2 separate regions of the Homo sapiens genome follow, and region 1 is linked to region 2. Evidence: promoter capture Hi-C in human tissues and cell types (Jung and others, 2019). All regions are on one chromosome and are shown on one strand. Each heading gives the region's core, a stretch centred on a gene start or on the middle of the fragment in contact. The rest is flanking DNA. Distances are from core to core; before and after follow the strand shown.

Region 1 (7,102 bases), core at 3,694-6,193, 1.3 Mb before region 2:
ATAATTCTCCTGCCTTGGCCTCCAAAAGTGCTGGGATTACAGGCATGAGCTACCCCGTCCGGCCTCTCCCTGAGTAACCTCAGTCACTGGTTTCACGCTCACAGTATTAGCGTACCCAGTCGTTGACGCCAGGCATAGTGTCTGCACTCATCGCTGCAGTCCTGGCATACAGCAAGGGCTCAACAGAACGAACGCAGTGGAGCTGGGAGAATACCTGAGGTCTGAGAGGAACCTAAGAAGTCCCCGCCCCTCCTCTATCACATGACAGTTAGGTAAAGTGAGGCCCGGAGAGAGAGGCTTCAGCGGCTCACCCAGCCCCCGTGGGCCTGGATCCAGGGCGTGAAGCTGTGCACGTGCTCCACGCTGAGTCCGGCCAGGGTGCCCCCCAGCCCGGCCACGCGCCGGCTCAGCTCCATGGCTAGGGCCAGGCGGGCCAGGGGCTCCGGGGAAGGAGGCGGGGGCCCGGGGCATGCTCGGCTTGGGCGAGAGCTGTCATCCCGGCTACAGAACAGCTCCACCAGGCGGGCGAAAGAGTCGGAGGACAGGCGGACCAGCTTGCTGCGCAGGGCGGGGTCCGAGGCCAGCTGTAGGGTGGAAGAGGCAGGGTCCGCGTCAGCAGCGCCCCCGGGGCCAGCCAATAGAGGGCCGGGAGGCGTGGCTTCCCGGTTCAGGATCGTTCTAGATGCTAAGGTTCTAGGCCACCCCTCATCCATATTAGCCAATCAAGCCAGACTCCAGGGTCTCTGCCAAACTACCCCCGGGATAGTGGCCTGGAACGTGAGTCCCTAAGCCATGCCAGGCCCTTGCCTCAACAGCCAATCAGGGCCAATCTCTACTGTAACTGAGTTAATCTAGCCATGCCCCTGGTGACCTTTCCCAGGGGCCAACCTAGTGTCTACAACAATCTTGCCCTCTACCATTCAATTAATATTAAAGGACGATGTACCTTGTCCAAGCTCCGAAGCCAATCAGATTCCAGGACACAGCCACAAGCCACACCTCCTCTGGTAGTACATTTTCCCCTACATTCTAAGCCAGGTCCCTTCTATGCTCAGTAAGATTTTAGCCACTCCCCCCACCCCCACATTCATTCACTTACTTCCCCAGCTTGGCCAGTCTCTTGTGGATAATGTTTCTGATGGCCACACCCTCTGCATTTAGGCCATGCCCCTCTAAACAATCAATTAAAACAACTAATTTACGGTACAGTACTACCCTAACCATACCCCTGTCATTCAACTATTCTTTTTTTTTTTTTTTTTTAAAGACAGAGTCTCACTCTGTCACCCAGGCTGGAGTGCAGTGGCGCAATCTTGGCTCACTGCAACCTCCACCTCCTGGGCTCAAGCGATTCTCCTGCCTCAGCCTTCTGAGTAGCTGGGATTACAGAAGCGCACCACCACACCTGTCCGATTTTTGTATTTTTAGTAGAGATGGGGTTTCACCATGTTGGCCAGGCTGGTCTCGAACTCCTGACCTCAAGTCATCCACCCAACTCGGCCTCCCAAAGTGCTGGGATTACAGGCGTGAGCCACCACACCCGGCCTCAACCCTTCATTGAAACCTTGTCCCAGCCTCTTTCCACCTGACCATCCAAAGAAAATACAGATCCAGCTTCTGATCCCAGTGCCCCACCATTCCGCAACTCCTGTCCTTGCCAAGGAGTGGGACAGATGCCCATCACCTTCTGGTTAATGACTTCTGCCTCCTCCTCCAGCAGGGCCACCAGCCTCCGCAGTATGGCTTCCTTCTCTGTCGATGGGGGACCCTGTAATTCTGGAGGCAGAAGAGAATTTGGCTGGGGGCAGAACCCTGACTATCCTCCCACCGCCATCCTTCTCTGGGGCTCCTCTGTGCCTCACCTGGGCTGGGCGGAGATTTCAGCTGCTCTTGGACCAGCTGTTCCAGCCGCTGGGCCACCAAAGCATAGAAGTCTGGAGTAGCTGGGCCTGGGGTGAAAAGAGTTAATGACAGGTTTCCAGGACATTGGAAACTTACGGATTCTCTCCTTCCCCCAACTACCTTGGCAGGTGGCAATGATTCCCATTTTATTTATTATTTATTTATGTATTGATTTTGGGAAACGGAGTCTCGCAATTCTCCTGCCTCAGCCTCATGAGTAGCTGGGACTACAGGCGCACGCCGCCATACCTGGCTAATTTTTTGTATTTTAGTAGAAATGGGGTTTCACCGTGTTGCCCAGGCTGACCTCAGGCAATCCACCCACCTCAGCCTCCCAAAGTGCTAGGATTACAGGCGTGAGCAACCAAGCCTGGCCATGATTCCCATTTTATAATGGGGTAAACTGAGGCCCAGTGAGAAAACTTGGTTAAAAATGCCAAAACCCTTGTACTTTTCACTTTATGAGATCCTCAGACTGGACTTAGAATGTCAGAGCTGGGGCCAGGCGCAGTGGCTCACGCCTGTAATCCCATCACTTTGGGAGGCTGAGGCAGGCAGATCACCTGAGGTTGGGAGTTCGAGAGCAGCCTGACCAACATGGAGAAACCCCATCTCTACTAAAAATACAAAAAAAATTAGCCGGGCATGGTGGCGCATGCCTATAATCCCAGCTACTTGGGAGGCTGAGGCAGGAGAATTACTTGAACCCGGGAGGTAGAGGTTGTGGTGAGCCGAGATCGGGCCATTGCACTCCAGCCTGGGCAACAAGGGCGAAACTCCGTCTCAAAAAAAAAAAAAAAAAAAAGAATGTCAGAGCTGACAGGGTGCGGTGGCTCACGTCTGCAATCTCAACATTTTGGGAGGCCGACGTGGGAGGGTCACTTGAGGCCAGGAGTTTGAGGCCAGCCTGGCCAACGTGGCGAAACCCCGTGTCTACTAAAAGTATAAAAATCAGCTAGTATGCTGGCGTGCACCTGTAATCCCAGTCACTCGGGAGGCTGAGGCACGAGAATCGCTTGAACCCAGGAGGTGGGGATTGCAGTGAGTCGAGATTGCACCCCTGCACTCCAGCCTGGGTGACAGAGCAACAATCTGTCTCCAAAAGACTGTCAGAGCTCAACTAGACCTTGAAGATGATCTCATCCAAGGAAGGCAAACACAAGACATTACTGTTAGTATCCCCTTCCCTCACTCACTACAGACATCACCAATTGATCACAGCACTTCCTCTCCCAAGCTGTGAACCCCTTTTCAAGCTAGCACTCCCAGCAGCCATTACTAGTCTGTCCAGGTTCACACCTATGAGGAAACTTGTGGGTCACCTTGATCAAGTCCAGTGACCTCCTCCCCAATTCCTACTCTGCTATTGGAAAAACAGGGGAGCAGGGAAGAGAAAGCATTTTCCCCAGAGTCACGCAACTAAAACAGCCAGGGAGATGTGATTGAAAACCAGCCCTTCTGCCCCTCTATCAGGGGTATTCCTGGCTACAAAAGTCCTAGGGGCAGGGAAGTAGTTATGGAAGGAAAGAGACAACAACCAGATTGACCAAATGCTCTCTGAAAGCCAACCCACAGAATTGACAGAAATCTAACTGGGGAGGGGAGAGGACAGGACGGTTCTGTCCTGAAGGCTGGTGCTAGAGACTCCACACAGCCACCCCCTAGCTGAGTGATCTTAAACTAGCACCTTATCCCGTGTTCTGCCGGCTTCATAGATGATCATGGAAATCTCTTACCAGGCTCTAAACCATAGCAGGGGCGGATGGGCAGAGAGCAAGGCCGAGGGGACTCAGAGGGGGCTGCTCCTCGCCCCAGGGAGCAGGGAAGACATCTTCGAAGGCGGCTCAGGAAGTCTGTTGGCTCTTCTTGGGCAGGGCTTCTGGAGAGGAGGACTTCAGAGACTGACCCCACCAGAGATCCCCTGCAAGCAGTCTCTTTCCCCAACTCCCTCCCTCCCCCGCTGAGGACCTCTCTCCAAAACCCCAAAGACAGAGAATAGAGCCAGATATAAAGAGAGGAGACAGACTGAGACCAGGAGCAAGAGTTAGGAGGGAGCCTCAAATGCTGGCCCCTGGGGGAGAAGGGCCACTCCTCTTACCTAGGTGGAGTTGGAACAGGAGACCCGGCAGCCTCACCACGCCTAAGGAAGGCAGCTAGGACCCTCAGCGTGTCTTCCCGGAGCCCCAGCTCTTCAGAGCCTGCCATGGAGGCACCTGTGAGAGAGAGGGTTAGGGACTGGACTCCAAGGGTTTAGCAAGAAGTGGAGGCTTGGGGACCAGGACTTGTGAGTCCCAAGGAAGGTGCTGAGGGCCTGGACTCCTGGGTCCTTTGGAGAGTGTGGGTCTGGGGGCCTAGACTCTTGAGTCCTCAGACGAAAAAGCGATCAGGAAAAAGACTCTTCGATCCAAGGAAAGGTGGTGGGGCTGGGTGCCCAGATTCGTGGGTCTAAAGGAGGAGGGAGCTGGGGTCCTGGACTTCTGAGTCTTAGAGAAAAAGGAACTGGAGCCCCAGACCCTTAGGTCTCCCAGGAAGAAGAGGCTTAGCGCCCCAACTCCTGGATTCTATAAGAGGCATATGCCAAACTCCTGAAACCCTTAAAGCATCGGGAACTACCAATCCCAAGAGGTTTCAGGGCAAATCTTCCCCTAGGTCCGCGCTTCTTCGCCGCGCAGCCTGCTGTGAGGTGTAGTTCCAAATCTCCGACCCCTGCTGGAATCTAGAGGACCCTGGACCCTTGGATATCAGAGAAGCGGGACTGGGGTGCCCACCACTGGATCCCGGCCCCCTCCTCTTCCCTCCTCACCCCACCCCTCGTCAACACCCCGCTGACCTGGTCCGGGGCCCCACCGCCGCCTCCTCCACTCAACTTGCGGTCTCCTCCACTGAACTCGTACAAACTTTATTAGTTCAACTTTCCCGCGCCTGCGCACTGGGCCGGGTCGATAACCGGCCCAGCGTAGAAAGGGCGGAACGCTGGGTGCACGCTCAATTTGCATGTGACGCTCCCAGCATGCCTCTGGCCGGAAACCCAAAAAAGGGCATAGGGGCGGGAACAGCCCAGCGGGCCGTCCCATCGGCTTTTGGGTCTGTTACCCAAAGAATGATAAAGTTGGTTTTATTTCAAGAAGTCGATCAAAAAGAAAGCCCCAGCGCTCTAGAGCTCAGCTGACGGGAAAGGGGGTGCGCAGCCTCGAGTTTGAGAGCTACCCGGAGCTCCAAGACAGGGGTGGGTTCCAGCTGCCCGCACGCCCCGACCTTCCATCGTAGGTAACGCGGAAGAGCCCGGGAGAGCGTTGGTGGCGTCCGAGAGCGAGGAGCGGGAAAGAGGATGGGTCTGCACGGAGAGTGGAAAGGCAGGCTGTGTACTCTGGGGAAAGTGGAGCAAGGAAGGAGCTACAGTGGCCGACGCTGGAGGTCGGCTGCAGAAAAACTAGAAAAAGTAGGGAGGAAAGAGGAAAAGAGGAGGCGTCTACACTGAGGGGGTTCTAGAGAGGGAGGGGTGGACTCCGTAGATGGGGGTAGTTCAGTCTCGAAACCTGGGGCGTGCTCTGTCCTGGAGGAGGGAGGCGGGCAGTCGGAGGGGAATTGAATGGAAGTTCTGTGTTGGAAATGTTTTGGGAGATCTTCTGTAGGGGGACTGTGGAAGGGGGTCTACATTGGGGTAAGTGCAGGAGGTAGAGGCTTACACGTGAATCGATTCTGCACTGAAATAACTAGGGAAAGAGGATGCTACCCTGAAAGTGGGGATACTTACTTTCGATGATGTGGGGGAGGGAGGAGGTCTATACTGGCGGAATTGAGGGAGTGGAGGGTCTGCACTGAAGACGCTGGGGAAGGATGTGCCATGGATATGGGAAGGAACCCTAGCTGATTAGAGAGCCTCTCGGGAGGATGGGAGGATGGGAAGAGGAGGTTTCCTGTTTGTACCCCCGAAAATATGGGTGAAGGACCTGTGCCGTGGCCCGTGAGAAGGAGGTCTGGGTGCGGAAACTCCAGGCCAGGTGGGTCCGGGGGAGGCCGGTCGCGCCCAGGAAATGCCCTATACGCGCAGGCCGGACCATGGGAACCCCAAAGCCACGGATCCTGCCCTGGCTGGTGTCGCAGCTGGACCTGGGGCAACTGGAGGGCGTGGCCTGGGTGAACAAGAGCCGCACGCGCTTCCGCATCCCTTGGAAGCACGGCCTACGGCAGGATGCACAGCAGGAGGATTTCGGAATCTTCCAGGTGCGTGCGACGACCTGGGACGCTGGAAACCCGGAGCTGCGCGCTGGGCGGAAAGGACTCCTAGTGGGCCCGGCTGAGAAGGCGGAGGTGGCGCGCGAGGGGCGGGCTCGTGCCAACGCTGGTGGGTGGGGCTAGAACGGGAGGGGCGGGGCTAGCCGGATCCGCTGACTGATGGTGGGGCGCAAGCAGGGTTGGAGCTGCAGGGTTACGGGAATAAAACCGGGAAAGCCGGTTAGTACGCAAAGGAAATGCATCCTGGGGGTTTGGGGCTTTCTAGAGGCCGGGGCTCTTGGTTGTAGGATAGATACTGGGGGATGGTTCTTGAAACATCAGAGGTGAGGCCTGGAGCCCCAAATCTGAGGTTCCTAACTACCGAATTAGTATATGCCAGAGGTGGTAAACAGTGTGAGGGGCGGGGTTATCACAGAGGGTGTCGCGGGGCAGGTGGTGCACGGGATTAGACACCAAGTTGGACTTGGAAGCCTGGCTTAGAAAGAAAAGGTTTTTGGGCCGGGGGCGGTGGTTCACACCTGTAATCCTAGCACTTTGCAAGGCCAAGGCGGGAGGATCGCTTGAGCCCAGGAGTTTGAGGCCAGCTTGGGCAACATAGGCTCCATCTCTTTAAAAACAAAAGCGAAACAAAACAAAAACCAAAGAGGTTTCAAAGGCTTTTGAAGAGGCCGAGCACAGTAGCTCATGCCTGTAATCCCAGCACTTTGGGAGGCCGAGGAGGACGGATCACCTGAGGTCAGGAGTTCAAGACCAGCCTGGCCAACATGGTGAAACCCCATCTCTACTAAAAATACAAAAATTAGCCAGGTGTAGTGGTGCCCACCTGTAATCCCAGCTACTCAGGAGGCTGAGACAGGAGAATCGCTTGAACCGGGGAGGCGGAAGTTGCAGTGAGCTGAGATTGCACCATTGCATTCCAGCCTGGGTGACAGGAGTGAAACTCCATCTCAAAAAGAAAAAAAGC
Region 2 (7,019 bases), core at 1,950-4,449:
TTTTTTTTTGAGACAGAGTCTCACTCTGTCACCGAGGCTGCAGTGCAACCTCCGCCACATGGGCTCAAGCCATCCTTGAGCCTCAGCCCCCTAAGTAACTGGGACTACAGGCTTGCGCCACCATGCCTGGATAATTTTTGTATTTTTAGTAGAGATGGGTTTTCGCCATGTTGGCCAGGCTGGTCTCGAACTCCTGACCTCAAATGATCTGCCTGCCTTGGCCTACCAAGGTGCTGGTTTTACAGGCATGAACCACCACACCCAGCCTGTACTGTCTAATATGAGAGTCCCCAGCCACATGTGGCTGTTGAGCACCTAAAATGTGGCCACTGTGAGTGAAGAATGGACTTTTATTTTAATTAGTGCAAAGTGAGGTAGCCACATGTGGCTGTGGCTACCCCACTGGACATCCCAGATTTAAAAAATTTACTTAGGCTGGGCGCGGTGGCTGACACCTATAATCCCAGCACTTTGGGAGGCTGAGGTGGGCAGAACACTTGACGTCAGGAGTTTGAGGCCAGCCTGGCCAACATGGCGAAACCCCATCTCTACTAAAAATACAAAAATTAGCCAGGCGCAGTGGCGCACACCTGTAATCCCAGCTACTTGGGAAGCTGAGGCAGGAGAATCGCTTGAACCCAGGAGGTGGAGTTCCAGTGAGCGGAGATCACGCCACTGCTTTTTGCACTCCAGCCTGGGCAACAGAGCGAAACTGTTTCTTTCTTTTCTTTTTTCTTTTTTTTTTTTTTGAGATGGAGTCTGGCTCTGTTGCCTGGGCTGGAGTGCAGTGGTATGATCTCCACTCACTGCAAACTCCACCACCCGGGTTCGAGTGATTCTCCTGCCTCAGCCTCCTCAGTAGCTAGGATTACAGGTGTGTGCCACTATGCCTGGCTAATTAAGATTGTTTCAAAGAAAAAAAATTTACTTAACTTTTCTAAGCCCTAGTTTTGTTATCTCAGAGATGGGACTTGCAGCACCTACTGTGAGGGCTGTTCCTTACTATGAGAGTCCATCAGTGCCTCAATAGCATAGGGCCTATAGTGGGGTGCTCAGGAAAAGGTGGTGTCAGCATTTGCTCCGTTGTCTTGTTTCCCCGTCTGACCCCTTCCTTGTCCTCCCATCTCCCGCACTGTGTCTGGGAGTTGAGAGCTCCTGGCTCCTGTCACCCAGGGGCACAGTCGGGCCATGGGAGGGCCTCACCCCTTCGAAGACCCGCGTGATGGTCTTGGGCCTTCTCAGAAACTGCACGGCTTCGCTGTTGGCCAGCTCCTGGAGGCTTTTGGGGATGTGCATGGCAGCTGTTTTCCTTTGGGGCCACTGGGAGGTGGGAGCCAGGGTGCTGGGCGCTGCCTGCTGGGCACTGCCGTCCGGGGGCTTCAGGCCAGCCCTGGGCTTGGCTGCTGTGGGATGACACAGATGGGGGATGCCAGTCAGGGGCACGGGGTGGAAGGGCTGTTGGGGGCCCCAGGATTGGGGGACATGGGGTGGGGATGGGGGGGGTCCCCGGAATGGAGTTGTGTGGGGTGAGGGGACTGCTGAGCCTCTTAGGAGTCAGGGTGTGGGGTGAATGGGCTGTCAGGGGCCCCAGAAGTCGGGGACGTAGGATGGGGGTGCAGGTGGGTCCCAGGGAATGAGGTTGTGTGTGCTGAGGGGGCTTCTGTGGGCCCCAGGAGTGGGGGGCATAGGATGGGGGTGCTGGGGGTCCCAGGAATGGGGTTGTGTGGTGAGGGGGCTACTAGGGGTCCCAGAAGTGGGAGGCATAGGATGGGGGTTCTGGGGGGTCCCAGGAAAGGTGTTGTGTGGAGAGGGCTGCTAGGGGTCCCTGAAGTGGGGGACATAGGATGCGGGTGCTGGGGGTTCCCAGGAATGGGGTTGTGTGTGGTGAGGGAGCTTTCTGGGGGTCCCAGGAGAGGGGGGCATAGGATGGGGATACTAGGGGTCCCAGGCAAGGTGTCGTGTGGGGAGGGCTGCCAGGGGTCACAGAGGTGGAGGTGCAGGATGAGAGAGTCGCTAAGGGTCCCCTGGGTTGAGGTGTGGGTTAAGGGGGTCTATGGAGGATTCCAGAGAGGTGAGGGCCTGGGGTGAGGGTGATTCTGGGGGTCCCAGGAGTGGGGGACATAAGTGAAGGGGCTGCTTCAGGTTCCAGAAGTCAGGAATGTGGGCTGAGGGGGTTGTTGGGCGAGAGGGCTGTCAGGGATCCCAGAGGTGGAGTGCAGGGGAGGGCTGGGATATTTGGGGACCACGTCTTGTGACCCAGGAGCTGAAGGGCCTGCAGAGGGACTGGGTCCTTCTGTGAGAGGACACAGGTGGGACTTTCTGGGGACTAGGGGGTGCGGCCATTGAGATCAGAGCCCCTGGGAGGTCTGAAACCGAATAATCCCTTTCAGGTTTGGGGGTGACAGCACCCTTCGTGGAGAACCCAGGTATCTCAGGGCATATTTCAGGCTGTCCTTGTCACTTGGGGCCATTTCCCAGAATAAGGGCCTCCCTTTCGAATTCAGCTCCATTTTCACGGAAGTGCACCTCCTCAAGCTGGGAGTCGGGACCTCGGATTTGTGGGGAACCTCAGAATGAGGCCACGCCCCGGCACTGGGCTACCTTCTTAGAATCGCGGTCTCCCCTTTAAGGACCTGGAATGGCAGTGCTGAGGTTTGGGGGTGACGGCACCTGAGAAGGGGCCGCCCCTTCTCTGGAGGGCCAATCTGCGTCACCTGAGGGCCCGCCCTTCCTTTCGCCACCCCCACCCCTCCTGGTCCCTAGCGCCACCTCAGCCTTCTTTTGGTTCCGCTTTTTCCCGCCTTTTCGCTCCTCCACAGCTGATTGGCTGCGCCCAAGTCCCGCCCCCTCCCTCTTTCCGCCTACTCAGGAGCTGACACGAGCCGGGGCGTGGCCTCGGCGAACGTTGGACTGCGCGCCGTTGGCGGACTGCGCGCGGGAGCCCTACCCCGCCCCATCCCTCTAGGGAGTCTCGCGTCCACACCGCCCCTTCCCTTTGTAGCAAGCTGACAAGGAGACACTCCTGCGGCGCATGCGTCGCGCCCAAACGAGGCCGGCGGTGGAGAAAGGCAGGCAACGCATGCGTAGTTGATGTAGGGAGTCGGCGGTGAGAAATGGACAGCCCGCATTGACCGAAGCTTTGCGCATGCGTTTTACTGCTGGGTGAAGCCGAACCTCGGGAGCCCAGGACGCCCTCCTGCACATGCGCAGGAGGCTCAATGACAGTCGAGCTTTGGCTAAGGTGAGGGAGAAATCGGGGGATTGCATGGCCAGGGAGGGCGGCCCTGCACCCCCTAGGTAACCTTTACGAGCATTTCCTGCTCTCCTAAGATCTACCTCGCTGTCTAGACCCCAAAGAAACGTTGTACCACTACAGGGTCTCTGGGCCTGAAAAACGCCCCAGAACCTAAGACCTCTGACCCCTGTCTGGGACCCAGGCCAACTGAGCAGTGTGGGAAGGGGACAGGCAACAGGGGCTTTGAGGCGAGCGGATGGGCTCTGCGCCCTGCCTGGGGTAGAGACGGCTTCTGGAGGGTGGGACGTGGAGGTGGAGAGGGCGCTTTTCCTCTAGATGGCCTTTGACCCCTGCCCATTTTCCTCTGTTTAGGCTCCGGGGAAAGGGTCTAGCCATGCTGCATGTGACCCGGGGGGTCTGGGGGTCCAGGGTCCGAGTATGGCCACTGTTGCCCGCGCTCCTCGGGCCCCCCCGGGCCCTCTCATCGCTGGCAGCCAAAATGGGGGAGTATCGCAAGATGTGGAACCCCAGGGAGCCCCGCGACTGGGCCCAGCAGTACCGCGAGCGCTTCATTCCCTTCTCCAAGGAGCAGCTGCTCCGCCTCCTAATACAGGTACCGCCTGTCCCAGGCCCAAGAGCCTGGGGACTACGGCTCCCAGCAGGCTTCGCGGCGGCAGGGCCCTAGTTGCTGCAGAGAGCTGCCCTGGCGCCTCCTGGGAGTTGTAGTTCCCGGGTCCCTTCGTGTTTCCCTAGTGGGCGGGAGATGAGCTGGAATGCAGGAGCCAGGTCTCCGAGATGCAGACGCAGCATCCATTCCCAACTCTGGCTTGTTCTGAGGGCTTGAACAGGCACTCTCTGGGGCATGGTTTTTCCCTCTTTAAGATGGGTATAGTAATCATCCTCATCATTACTATTTCTACTACCTGATAATAATTGTACCTATAAAGTCACAACGCTGTAATCATAATTATTATCACACAATTTGAGCTCTGACTCCATGGCACTGTGCCAGACATTTTTCATGTATTGTTGAATCATCAGTAAGAGAGATACCACCATCATCCCCATTTTACAGATGAGATAATGGAAGCATAGGGAAGGAAAGTGACTTACCCAAGGCCACAACATAGTGGCTTAGATTTGAACCAAAGTGGTCTGACTCCAGAGCTGGCCCAGGACTAGGGTTAGGCAAGTAGGGCACTCGCTTGACCCTAAGAGTGAGTGCCCCGTTAAATTTTGCACCCTTGGGTGCCATATTCACCTCATCCTAGTCTTGGTCTCACTCTAGAACCTGAGGTCTTATTGCCACCATCATCATCATTGTCATTATTGAGGATTTTGAGGATTATTATTCATTTATTTTTCTTTATTTATTTTTGTGAGACAGGGTCTCACTCTGTTGCCCAGACTGGAGTGCAGTGGCACAATCTCAGCTCACTGCAACCTCTGCCTCCTAGACTCAAGTGATCCTCCTTCCTCAGCCCCCGAGAGGCTGGGACTCTTGCCTGGCTAATTTTTGTATTTTTAGTAGAGACAGGGTATTGCCATGTTGGCCAGGCTGGTCTCGAACTCCTGGCCTCAAGTGATCTGCCCATCTTGGCTTCCCAAAGTGCTGAGATTACAGGTATGAGCCACCACACCTCACCATCATTCATTAATTTAACATTTATTTACTGAACACCTACTGTATGTACTCAATTCTGTGCTGGACTTGATACACACACAAATACACACACACAAATACACACAAGTATATGCATACAAGTACACACACAAATACACAAATATGTGTACACAAATACACAAATATACACATACAAATGCACACACACAAATACACGCACACACAAATATATGCACACAAAAGTACACAAATATACACACATAAATATACAAATATATGCACATATATGTAAACACATGTGTATATAGGACATGTGTAATCTCATCAAATTCTCACCGTAGCCCTCCAAGAAAGAGCGTGTAATCCTCTGTTGCCAGTGAGGAAACTGAGGCTCAGAGAAGTGAAGACAATTACCCAGGACATTGACATAGGAAACATAAAGAAGTGGTTCAAGGCCGGGCGCGGTGGCTCACGCCTGTAATCCCAGCACTTTGGGAGGCCGAGGCGGGCAGATCACGAGGTCAGGAGATTGAGACCATCCTGGCTAACACGATGAAACCGTCTCTACTAAAAATACAAAAAATTAGCCGGGCGAGGTGGCAGGCTCCTGTAGTCCCAGCTACTTGGGAGGTGAGGCAGGAGAATGGTGTGAACCCGGGAAGCGGAGCTTGCAGTGAGCCGAGATCGTGCCACTGCACTCCAGTCTGGGCAACAGAGCAAGACTCCATCTCAAAAAAAAAAAAAGAAGAAGAAGTGGTTCAAGGCCAGGCATGGTGGCTCACGCCAGTAATCCCAGCACTTTGGGAAGTCGATGCAGGTGGATCACCTGAGGTCATGAGTTTGAGACCAGCCTGGCCAACATGGTGAAACCCCGTCTCTATTAAAAGTACAAAAATTAGCTAGGCGTGGTGGCAGGCGCCTATAATCCCAGTTACTTAGAAGGCTGAGGCAGAATTGCTTGAACCGTGGAGGAAGAGGTCGCAGTGAGCTGAGATCATGGCCGCTGCACTCCAGCCTTGGCAACAGAGTGAGACTCCTTCTCAAAAAAAAAAAAAAAGGAAATGGTTCAATGTGTACCCTGGAGTCAGACAGGCCTAGATAGCAGTCATTTCCCACAGACACTGCAGCCCTTACCAAATGACTTTTCCAGAGCCTCAGTTTCTCCCACTGACAAATGGGAGTTATAATTCCATCAACCTTGGGGGTATGGTGGCTCAGCCTCCCAGCACTTTGGGAGGCTGAGGTGGGAGGATTGCTGGAGCACAGGAGTTCAGACCAGCCTGGGCAATATAGTGAGACTCCACCTTTACAAAAAATTGAAAAAAATTCGCCAGGCATGGTGGTGGGCACCTGTAGTCTTAGCTACTCAGGAGGCTGAGGTGGGAGGATCGCTTCATCCCAGGAGGTTGAAGATGCAGTGAGCTGAGATTGCACAACTGAGCTCCAGCCTGGGTGACAGAACGAGACTCTGTCTCAACATAATAATAATAATAATTCCATCTACTTCTGGAGGATGATATTACACTGTCAAACCGTTCCTGGAATTGTGTGTGTGTGTATTGGCTAGGAAATGTCAAAGCAAAAACTTGAACCTCCAGCTTTTTAAGCCCAGTATAGTTTTTCACTATATTTGGCTGCCTCAGTTTCAGTAAAATTGGTCAGCCCCCACCCAACCAAAACAAAACTTTTTTTTTTTTTTTTTTTGAGACAGAGTCTTGATGTTGTCTAGTCTGGAGGGCAGTGGCACGATCTCGACTCACTGCAGCCTCCGCCTCCCTGGTTCAAGCAATTCTCCAGCTTCAGCCTCCTGAGTAGCTGGGACTACAGGTGCATGCCATCACGCCCGGCTAATTTTTGTATTTTTAGTAGAGACAGGATTTCACCATGTTGGCCACGCTGGTCTTGAACTCCTGACTTCAAGTGATCCACTGCCTCGGCCTCCCAAAGTGCTGGGATTACAGGTGCGAGACACTGCGCCCAGCCCCAGAACAAAACTTCAAAGTCCAGAGCTCTGATTGTGTAGTTAGGCAGCCAGGGAAAGAATTCTTTCCCTCGGGGAAGGGGAAAAGGCCTACAGAGAAGTTTTGCTTCCTGAGGTAACAGGAATTCCACTCGAGTCCGGCAGAGAAGGCGGCTTTGGAGGCGTTCTCGGCCCACGTG

What was found. The method cuts DNA at HindIII sites, captures the fragments that hold promoters and counts their contacts. A contact is called where the count stands out against the background at its distance.
Region 1: a contact is called between the fragment with the promoter of IRF3 here and the fragment with the promoter of TMEM143 in region 2, in 1 of the 25 tissues and cell types used here (hippocampus).

The regions. Positions count from the first base shown.
Region 1 is chr19:49,663,698-49,670,799 of GRCh38, reverse strand. IRF3 (interferon regulatory factor 3) reads left to right here and starts at 4,943. Exons shown (of 8, transcript NM_001571.6): 1 at 4,943-5,169; 2 at 5,954-6,126. The coding sequence starts at 5,962. It overlaps BCL2L12 (BCL2 like 12), which reads right to left and starts at 4,867. Exons shown (of 7, transcript NM_138639.2): 1 at 4,733-4,867; 2 at 4,001-4,115; 3 at 3,639-3,781; 4 at 1,863-1,949; 5 at 1,685-1,776; 6 at 312-584. The coding sequence starts at 4,107. RefSeq lists silencers at 4,695-4,774, 4,815-4,964. The HindIII fragment of the contact is 43,433 bases long and covers 1-7,102 here.
Region 2 is chr19:48,360,120-48,367,138 of GRCh38, reverse strand. It overlaps TMEM143 (transmembrane protein 143), which reads left to right and starts at 3,199. Exons shown (of 8, transcript NM_018273.4): 1 at 3,199-3,241; 2 at 3,608-3,848; 3 at 6,963-7,019. The coding sequence starts at 3,219. It overlaps SYNGR4 (synaptogyrin 4), which reads right to left and starts at 2,772. Exons shown (of 5, transcript NM_012451.4): 1 at 2,602-2,772; 2 at 1,204-1,403. The coding sequence starts at 1,296. RefSeq lists enhancers at 2,478-2,627, 2,998-3,117, 3,598-3,647. The HindIII fragment of the contact is 11,146 bases long and covers 492-7,019 here.